2 separate regions of the Homo sapiens genome follow, and region 2 is linked to region 1. Evidence: promoter capture Hi-C in 16 types of primary human blood cells and fetal thymus (Javierre and others, 2016). All regions are on one chromosome and are shown on one strand. The core of a region is centred on a gene start or on the middle of the fragment in contact, and the rest is flanking DNA. Distances in the headings are between cores, read along the strand shown.

Region 1 (5,626 bases), core at 3,103-5,602:
TGCCCACGGCCCAGGCCAGGCAGGGAGCGGTGCTGACATATGGGCGAGTGGCCCTTTCCCACCCCACCTTGCAGGCTCCACAAGGGTCCCAGCAGCCTGCTGGCTCTCCAGTGAGTCAGGCGGTGACTCAGGGCCTAGCTCCGGGCTGGAAGAGGAGCTGAGTCAGGGAGCACCAGGCTTCAAAGAGCAGCTGGCTCTGGGCCAGGGCCCCTCAGCACCAGGACATGAGCTCAGGACAGGCTGTCTGGGGGACCCTCCCATGCTGCCCTCCCCTTCCCGGGCCTGGCCATCATGACAGCAGCTCCCACCAGCCTGACTCTGATGCTACGCACCCACCACCCCTTTGGGTTCTCAGTGGGGGAAAGAGTCGCCCTTTGCAGGGTCTAGACATGTGAAAGGTCATTTATGGTAGTCACAATGATTGAAGGACACTACTACTATTGAATATGCAAGACAGACAAGACTACAAAGCACCGTCAACCCCCAAATGCCAATGGTGTCCCATTGAGGAGTACAAGCTTAAGCACTGCCCCAGGCCCCCTCCCACAGAGCACAAGAGGGAGTGAAGTTTCCAGCCAGGAAAGAATCCTAGAGGCTTCAGCCCCTGCCCCACCCACACACGCACCCCATCCCAAGCCCCTAAAGCCCACCCTGAGCTCCCCACGACTGAGTCTCTGCTCCAGGGGACAGCCCTATGGACAGCCACGTCTCCTGGGTCTCTGTTTGTGGAACCCTCCTTGGCCCCTCTCCCACCTGACCCAATTCAGCTATGAACTCTCAGGCCAGCAGCGGCTGCAGCCACCGGGTCCAGAATCCTCCAACTCGTAGGCACACAGCATCACAGCCACCAAGTCTTAGGCTCACACACTCTTTGAAACACAGAATTTTGCAGCCTTTGAATGACAGAAGCTTAGAATTTCAGTGTCGCTGAGCCTTAAATCTTAACTTTGAACCCTTAGACTGTCGCAGAAGTTTTCAGTCTGAGTGTCCCAGAGCTGACACCTTTAAAGTTGCTGTGCTTTTGAGTCGCCACATCTCTGGCCTGAAGAGAGTCCGTATCCCACCAGTTAAGGCCGAGACCTGAACCACCTCTATCCCAGTCCAGCCTCAGCAGCCCTGGCCATGGGGATGCCGGGGGAACCCTCGCTCTGCGCAGCTCCCGGGACTGAAAAGTCCCTCCTGATGGAGGGGGGCTGCTTTCTGCCCCACCCCTTGGACCCAGGGCTCTCTCCAAGACAGACAAGAGGCAGGCCCAGCTCCTCCCGAAACCAGTACTCCTCTCCCTCCTGGGCCAGCCCCACTGTTGTCTCCAACCCCAGGCCACAACCCACATGACCTGAGGATGGAGGTGAGAGGGGTGGTGAAAACCAAGGAGACAGTGGCCCCAAGGACTCTGTTTGCCCAACAGGCCAGAAATATGGAAAACTGGGTGGGTTCCCAGGGGCTGGCTCACTCAGTGGTCAGGCGTCAGGGTGCCTGAGATCAAGGCAGCCCCCATGGCGTGTGTGGCTAACACCCTGGGCTCCCAGGGCTGGAAGGGGTGATTCGTCTGCCGTCTCCTTTTTAGGTGGAGGTGCTGAGGCTCAGAGAGAGGAGACTGCCCAGGGTCACACACATGGCAGACAGGACTTGACCACCCCCATCTAGGGGCCTCTCCGTGACACGTGGGCAGCACCCCAGCCAGCCCAGCCAGAGCCCATCAGAGACGCAGCTGGGTCAGACTCCCAGGCCAAGTCCTCTGAGCCATGCCCCTGCCTCCAGCCCAGAGCAGTATTGCCCATCCAGACCCCCTAAGGTTCAAAGAAGCAAAGTGACTTACTCATGGTCACACAGCACCCAAGTGACAGAGCCAGAATCAACTCTTGTCATCTCACCCAGGAAAGGCCCCTGAGACATTGTGAAATTGTCCCCCTGGTCCTCCTACCAGCCTTTCTCTTCCTAAAGGCCCAAAATTCCTGCGGCCGCCCCCTTCTCAGGCCTGGCACTCCTCTGTTCACATGCCACAAGCCCCTGAGGTTTCCCCAGTGCTTTGTATTAAAACTAGCCACGTAGGCTGGGCACAGTGGCTCACACCTGTAATCCCAGCACTTTGGGAGGCCGAGGCAGGCGGTTCACGAGTCAGGAGTTCGAGACCAGCCTGACCAACATGGTGAAACCCCATCTCTACTAAAAATACAAAAATTAGTAGGGCATGGCGGTGGGTGCCTGTAGTCCCAGCTACTCGGGAGGCTGAGGCAGGAGAATTGCTTGAACCTGGGAGGCGGAGGTTGCAGTGAGCCGAGATCGCGCCACTGCACTCCAGCCTGGGTGACAGAGCGAGACTCCATCTAAAAAAAAAAACTAGCCAAATGGGTGGTCCCTGCTTCCCTCTTCCCCGGGCACTCCCTGGGACAGACACCAGCTCTGCCTCTTTGTCCTCAGTGTCCCAGGGCAGATGTCAGTGAGTGCTGGGTGAACTAATTACCGAGCAGACCCTCTCACCAAGCCTGAGACGCTGTGAGCCGTCCCCCAGAAGGAGCAGGGAGGCTCTTAGCCCCCACCCAGCAAGGAACACCCAGTTCTGCATCCCACTCCAGCAGAGACCCGCTGGTTTCCAAAAGTTAGGGGGATCCAGGGCCCACGATCACCTCAGCCCCCTACAGAAGGGAAGCCTGGCAGTCCTGCAGCCAGTCTCAACATCCCAGCCTGCATCTGGCATCCCTGGATTCCAGGGCAGGACTCAGGCCTGCACCTGACCCACCAGCTCCCCGCACCCTGCCCTGTGTGGCCACAAGCACCAGAACCTCGAGCCACATATGGGCATTTTTTGGTGGGACCCTCAAACCACAAGGCCACCATGGCTTGGGTCCCCAAGCCTCCTCCTCAGTGGTCCCCAGCCCCCACTTCACCCTGCAAGCCAGTGCCACACAGTCCTTCCAGAGCACAGATCTCTCCAGACCCTGCTTCAAATCCTGCCCTTGGAGCACAGTCCCATCCCTCATGCAGCCTCCAAGGCCCTGCAGGGCTCCCGCCACACCTGCAGCCTCACCTCACTCCTCTCTGCCCCTCAGGGCTCCAACACTGCCTGCAACTCCTCCCTTCTCCAGGCTTCGCTCCTGCCATGCCCTCCTCCTGCCTCCCACTACCCTCTCTACCCAACCAACGCTCTTCCTTATTGAGGAGTCAGCTCTGGCATTGCCCATGTACACCCAGCAAACACTGCCAGAGCACCCACGATGTGCCAAGCACTGTGCCAGGTGCTAGGGTCCCCATCCCAGTCATCTGACAGTACCCCAGGGGAGGCAAATGTTAGATTCAGAATTCCACAGTTAGATGTGACAGTTAGATATGAAGCAGAGGAGGAATCCCAGAGGGCTTCCCTGAGGAGGTGATGCTTAAGCTGGGATTTTAAGGATGTAGCAAAGGATTTGGCCAGGTCCAGGGGGAAGGGAAAAGCTTTTCAGACAGGGGGAAGAGCCAGTGAGAGGACCCTGAGGCTCAGAAGAGCACAGGGGGGAAGCCAAGTGGTGGGAAGTGAGGCTGGGTGGAACACACAGGCCCTGATGGGTTGGATTAGGACTTTGCTCTGCACCTCCAGGACCATAGCAAATCATGACAGTCTTAAGCAGGGGGAACATGAGCCCACTGGAGGCAGCAAGTGGAGGCAGGAGGCCTGGGAAGAGGCTGCTCGGAGGCACAGTAAGGAGAATGAGTCCTGCCCTGTGTGTTGGGATCGGCTGCCCCGCTGCCCACGCCCACAGTTCCTGATCACGGCTCCCATCCTCTGTATGGTCACGGCCCATCAGGTGGCTCCAGAGTCTGACTGATCTGCATTCCCAGCCCAGCACAGGTCTGGGGCCCACACTCAAGGACTTTCTGAGCCAGCCAGCCACTGGACTGACCCCACAGCCACCAGCAACTTCCAGAACCTTCACATCAGCAGAACACCAGGTCCTCATCCATTTGAGGTCTCCCCAGACCCACCCTCTGAGCTCGCTCACCACCACCAAGGCCCAGTGGCCTCACCGCAGACCTCAGGTCTCCCAGCCGGAGCAAGGTGTGAGCAGCAGGACTCAATCCAGCCCCCCACCCTTCAGCCCCTGCAGGGCCCCGATCAGCCGAGGCTGCGGAGGATATGGGTTGCACACCATCTTGATGCACCAGTTCCGGGGGCTGGTGGTCTGTCGCAGGCAGAAGAAGGCAATAGGCGCCAGGTCTGGGTGTGGGACATGAGGATCAGCTCCATCCAGAGGCTCCTCCAGGCCTGGCGGGGAGGATGGGGGGCTCCGGGGTCCGGGCTGCTCCGTGGTGACTCCTGGCTCAGCGGCTGGGGCTGCTGCAGATGAGGAGGGCGGGGAGGCGCTCTCAGCCATGTCCACACTGAGCTGGGAGCCCTGGGGAAGACAGAGAGGGTGGCACGTGGTGGGGACAGGCCTGGTACATGCTCCCCAACCTGCCTCTCCACCAATAAGTGGACGGATGCAGCTCTGACAGCCCCACCTGAGCCCCACAGGCCCCTCACCCTCACTCTTGCATGAGGATTACGAAACAGCTGAGGGCCCAGCTGCACCCAACTTGGAATCTGCTTCCAAGCTGGGTGATCATGGGGCAAGTCTGCTCACCCTGGCTGAGCCTCAGTTTTGGCAAACGAAGATAGTGGGGAGAATAAAGCCTTCTTAGAATATAATTGTGATATTAACTCTTTTTTTTTTGTCTATTGGCAATTTTCTGTATTTGAAATCTTTCATTATTTAAGAGAAAAAATGTTTAAGTAATTATAGACAGAAAAGAAAGACGGAAGGGAGGGAGAGAGGGAGAGAGGGAGGGAGGGAGGGAAGAAAGGAAGGAAGGAAGGAAGGAAGGAAGGAAGGAAGGAAGGGATCTTAACTTTTTTACAAGACTAGAGCTATGTATTTATTGCACCATCAAAGGTAAAGAAAACTTGCAAGAAAAAAGAGGTGATTGTAAAGACAGACATTATTGCCAGGACAATGCAGGTTACAAAGGCAATGTTGGGGTGCTGCAGAATCAGAGACTGGGGGAACGCTGGCAAGCCAGGAGGGAATCACAGTTGGCTTCCCTGAGGAAGTAACCCCTGAGCTGAGACCTACAGCTGAGCCCTTGACCCAGGGACCTCCCAGCCACTGCCTTACAAGGCTGAGAACCCAGGAATCTTAGAGTCTAACCTCCTTGCCTTACAGATGAAGAAACCGAGGCCCAGAGAAGGGACAGGACAGACATGTAGCAGAGTAACAGCAGAAATAGAATTCCAGTCAAAGGCCAGGCACGTGACTCACACCTGTAATCCCAGCACTTTGGGAGGCCAAGGTGGGTGGATCACCTGAGGTCAGGAGTTTGAGGCCAACCTGGCCAACATAGTGAGACCTCATCTGTACTAAAAATACAAAAATTAGCTGGGTGTGGTGGCACACGCTGTAATCTCAGCTACTCGGGAAGCTGAGGCATGAGAATCACTTGAACCCGGGAGGTGGAGGTTGCAGTGAGCCAAGATCACACCACTGCATTCCAGCCTGGGCAACAGAGCAAGACTCTGTCACCAAAAAAAAAAAAAAAAAAGAATTCCGGTCAGAGCCCGCTTCCTGGGTCTGTGGCTCAGGCAGCTGCACAGGGCCCCGTGCTCAGAAGG
Region 2 (5,165 bases), core at 2,297-4,796, 630 kb before region 1:
TTTCAAGCACATCTCCTGTCCTACATGCGTTTATATATAGTTACAGCAGCAATGGTTTATTTACATTCCTCCACTGACTGCAGAAAACCACAATCTATTTGTAATTATAATACCCTAAAAATAAGTTATTTGATTCTTTCAAATGTGAAAAGTAACAAGTGGCAACATTCTTGTTAAAAACTCATATAGAAAGTTGGTCATTTGCAAAACAGGTCTGCCAAAGGCAAAAAAAAAAAAAACAAAAAAACAACAACAACACATACACATTTAGAGGTTTTAAAAGCCTATTCTGGTTTTTCAAGCAGGGTATACAGAAACAAAACATCAAATTAAATGACTTTAACTCAACTAGAAGTAGGAATTAATATTATTCCTTTCTCTGACATTCAAAGCTCATCAGGCAAAGTTCTCAAGACAGTATTTTCTTGGCTTACACTACTTGAGACAAAAGTATTTCCTAGTGATTAACATTACGTGACCCTTTCAAACCTGAGCAAAGCTCGCCTAACTATTCTAAAATGGTATTACAAATTGAGTATTCCTTATTGAAATGTCTGGGAACAGAAGTGTTTCAAACTTTTTCGGATTCTGAAATAGTTGCATGAAATTTACTGGTTGAGCATCCTGAATCTGAAAATCTGAAATCCGAAATACTCCAATGAGCACTCTCAGTATCGTGCTGGTGCTCAAAAAGTTTCAGATTTTGGAGCATTTTGGGTTGTAGAGCATTTTGGATTTTCAGATTCGGGATTCTCAACCTGTATTTGAAAATGGAGGCTGGGTGTGGTGGCTCACAACTCTAATCCCAGCTACTCAAGAGGCCGAGGTGGGAGGATCGCTTGAGTCCCACCAGCCTGGGCAACACAGCGAGACCCTGTCTCTTCAAAAAATAAAAAATTAGCCAGGTGTAGTAGAGTACGCCTGTAGTCCCAGCTACTCAGGAGGCTGAAGTGGGAAGATCACTTGAGTCCAGGAGGTCGAGGCTGCAGTGAGCCATGATCATGCCACTGCACTACAGCCTGGGTGACAGAGTGAGACCCTGTCTCAAAAAAAAAACAAAAAAGAAAAAGAAAAAGAAAATGCACCAAACACCACATAAAAACAACTTTAGTAGGCCAACCCTTGAGCAGAGAAAAATCTGAAAATAAGCCAGTATTTATCTCATACTGCTCAAGTTCCAGCCCTATATGGCACAGACTTTCAGAGACATGTTCCCTATTCTCCATCTAGTTTTTCACAGCACTCTAACAAAGCCACTAAAAGCAAAACTTCACAACAGAAAGGTAGCCAAATTTTTTTTAAAGATTCTAAAGTGTAAGTGTGCAAAAATGTATACAAGGCAATTTTTAGATTTATAAAAGTACGAATGATAACCTAAACGTCCCTCAGTGGGAGCTACCATTTACCAGGTGCTTGCCATGTGCCACCCACAAGTATAGCACCCTACGTGTATCACCACGTGTGATGCTCACAACAGCTCTGTTAAATGGGGATGAGACACATCTCCAGCCTGCAGATAAGGAGGCGGAGGCACAGTGAAGTTGAGTAAGATTTCAGCACAGTTGCTGGCAGGGCTGGGATACGAATATAGAGCTTGAGCTCCCACCACCATCACATTCCACTGCCTCTCATGAGAGGGAACTTAAAGAAATGATGGCTTCTCCAAATAACACAAGGCCATGCAGCTCTAGTGGCAGGGGTTTTGACTGATGACCATTGTAATTCCCAGGAATACAGTGTGCCTGTGCCTAGCATATCATAAATACTCAATATGACCTACAACATATATTACATATACATTCATACATACATAAATAAAATGCTTAAAAGGGGAGGCTAAAATAAGAAATAGGGAACATTTAATTTTATGTACTTCTCATGATTTAAATTTTAGGCAAGAATATTACTTTTTAGCCGGGCGCGGTGGCTCACGCCTGTAATCCCAGCACTTTGGGAGGCCGAGGCGGGCAGATCACCTGAGGTCAGGAGTTAGAGACCAGCCTGGCTAACATGATGACACCCCGTCTCTACTAAAAATACAAAAAATTAGCTGGGCGTGGGGGTGCACGCCTGTAATCCCAGCTACTCGGGAGGCTGAGGCAGGAGAAACGCTTGAACCCGGCAGGCAGAGGTTGTAGTGAGCCGAGATCATGCCACTGTACTTCAGCTTGAGCAACAAGAGTGAAGCTCTTGTCTCAAAAAAAAAAAAAAAAAAAAAAAAGAATATTACTTTTTAAATTATTTTAAAATTTTGAAACAATCTCAAACTTATGTAAATTTGCAAGAATAGTACCAAGAACTGTCTCTCCCCAGAACCATTGAGGGGAAGTTGTCAACTTGAGGCCCTGTCACCCTGAATACTTTAGTATGTGTTTTCCCAAAAAACAAAACCAAATCACTAGGCCAGGGACTGTGGCTCACACCTGTAAACCCAGCACTTTGAGAGGCCGAGTCGGGCGGATCACTTGAAGTCAGGAGTTCAAGACCAGCCTGGCCAACATGGTGAAACCCAATCTCTATTAAAAATACAAAAATTAGTCGGGTATGGTGGCACATGCCTTAATCCCAGCTAGTAGGGAGGATGAGGCATCATGAGAATCGTTTGAACCCAGAAGGCGGAGGTTGCAGTGAGCTGAGATCGTGCCACTGCAGCACTCCAGCCTGGGCGACAGAGCCAGACTCTGTCTCAAAAGAAAAACAACAACAACAAAAACCAAACCACAGTCCTACATAACCATAATACAACCATCAAAATCAGAACATTAACGCTGATACATTTCTATCATTAAATCCTCAAGCCCCATGTAAGCTTCGTCACCTGTCCCAGCAATAGCCTTTATAGTAAAAAGATCGAGGTCAGAATCACATATTGCATTTAGTTGACATGTCTCTTTAGTCTCCTTCGGTTTAGAATCATTCTTTGGTCTTGCTTTGACTTTCATGACCCTGAAATTTTTGAGGATTACAGGCCAGTTATTTTGTAGAATGTCACTCCAACCAGGTTTGCCTATCATTTCCTCATAATTAGATTGAGGTCATGTGCCTTGGCAGGAACACTGCAGAGGGAATGGTGTGTTCTCTTTGCATCCTAGCAGGTGGCATGATTTCAATTTGTTCCACTGCTGGGATTACCTGGTTAAGGTGGCATCTGCCAGGCCTCTCCATTGGAAAGTTGCTCTTTTTCTCCTTTGTAATCATTAAGTATTTTTGAAGAAGTACTTTGAAATTTAGAGAACCCATTCTTCAAATGCTGAATTTACTGATAAGTCCGTACATAGGTTTTCTTACAAAGTAGGTGAAGCTGTGTGAGAACTCTTAGTTTTCTTTTTTACTCAGCAGGTTCTAATCCATGACTATCACTTCTTAAATTTTGAAATAAACTCAGATTTGGCCAGTGGGAACCGCTTCAAACTGACTCTGGGTCCTTTTGGCATGTTTTCATCACTCTTTGAAGACTTCTTTGCTTTCTAACCCAAGATGTTCCAGGCTCATGTTAAACATTCCTGCTCCAATCCTATAATCAGCCATTTCTCCAAGCAGCTGGGGTTCCTTTTAGTGGAAAATGGGATATAGAAGCCAAGATCTAGAAACCTGATACACTCACTGCTATTGGAATACTGCTGTTCCCAGGCACCCTCCCCCTCTACTACCAACAGAACTAGGAAACAGATGTGCGTATGTATGTGCACACACATATGCATATAAATACACATGCATGCATGCCTTTTGCAAAGATTTTATTGCTATTTTTATCGGTCCTTATTAAAATCCAGGCATTCACACCAATACTTCTGATTCCGATCTAGCATCACAGGGTTAATTCTAGCTGTCTCCTTTCCAATATCTGTAATGTTCTTCAACAGTGAGAGCTGCTGGGGGCCATTATCCTGAACATACTTATTTCATCAATCCTCCTATATTCAACCAATCAATACAGGAAGGGCATCCCAGAAGCAATGGATGCCCTTCTCACCTCTCCTGGGCTCTGACACAGCACACCAGACCCTCCCTCCTCATCCTACTCAGGCTCTGATACCCCTGGCCAGGCCAACACCTTGCTGAGCCCACTTAATAGCCTCTAGGACTGAACTGTTCAGGAAGGAAAAGAGAGAGAAAAGAAGAATGCTTTTAAAATTAAAAAGAATTAATGTAAAAATGTATTTTTTAAAGAATATCTGTTAAGTTAGAACTTGTAATAATTCAGACGGCCAAACTAAAATTCAACTTTGCATCATCTATGAAGAACAGGTTTGCTAAGTAAATTAATAGTGTAAACAAGCTTGTAACCCAGATATTTAACCTACTTAAGAAAACTAATTGTTTTCAAGCACTTTAAAATCACTGGGCATGTACTTGCCTTTAATTATTGTCTAATTACAAATGACTTCTATTTTCTTCGTTATAGCTTTGATAAGCCTTCTGATTATGCTTTAAGAATTACAACTTAAACTCAATACAGTTTAGATCCTTTAAAAATGTCTTTATTAATCAATTGGTTTTTCAATTAATCACCTGAAGTAAACTTTTTAACCATTCAGTGATTTTTCTTTTTTAGTTAATCTGTCATGTTGCTTAAAAAGAAAAAATGGGCCAGGCATGGTGGCTCATGTTTGTAATCCCAGCGCTTTGGGAGGCTGAGGTGGGAGAATCACTTGAGCCCAGGAGTTCAAGACCAGCCTGAGCAGCACAGGGAGACCCTGTCTCTGTTAAAAGAAGTTTTTTTTAATTAGCCAGGCACGGTGGCTCATGCCTGTAGTCCCAATTACTTGCGTGGCTGAGACAGGAGGATCTCAGCTTGAGCCCAGAAGGTCGAGGCTGCACTGAACTATGAATCGCACCACTGCACTCCAACCTGGGCAACAGAACAAGACTTGTCTCAAAAAAAAAAAAAAAGAAAAAGAAAAACGCCTTTCGGCTGGGTGCGGTGGCTCATGCTTGTAATCTCAGCACTTTGGGAGGCCGAGGGGGGTAGATCATGAGGTCAGGAGTTTGAGAACAGCCTGGCCAACATAGTGAAACCCCGTCTCTACTAAAAATACAAAAAATCAGCCTGGGTGTGGTAGCAGGCACCTGTAATCCCAGCTACTTGGGAGGCTGAAAAGCAGGAGAATCGCTTGAACCCGGGAGGTGGAGGTTGCAGTGAGCTGAGATCAAGCCATGTGCTG

Evidence for each region. The method cuts DNA at HindIII sites, captures the fragments that hold promoters and counts their contacts. A CHiCAGO score of 5 or more calls a contact.
Region 2: a fragment that was not itself captured here is called in contact with the fragment with the promoter of CACNA1I in region 1 in 1 of 17 cell types (erythroblasts); the score reaches 5.1 in erythroblasts.

The regions. Positions count from the first base shown.
Region 1 is chr22:39,569,479-39,575,104 of GRCh38, reverse strand. It overlaps CACNA1I (calcium voltage-gated channel subunit alpha1 I), which reads right to left and starts at 4,352. Exons shown (of 37, transcript NM_021096.4): 1 at 4,117-4,352. The coding sequence starts at 4,352. RefSeq lists an enhancer at 1-333. The HindIII fragment of the contact is 9,228 bases long and covers 3,438-5,626 here.
Region 2 is chr22:40,197,335-40,202,499 of GRCh38, reverse strand. All of the region lies in intron 1 of TNRC6B (trinucleotide repeat containing adaptor 6B), which reads right to left. Among named protein-coding and RNA genes, the nearest start is that of TNRC6B, 22 kb to the right of the region's middle. The HindIII fragment of the contact is 1,470 bases long and covers 2,812-4,281 here.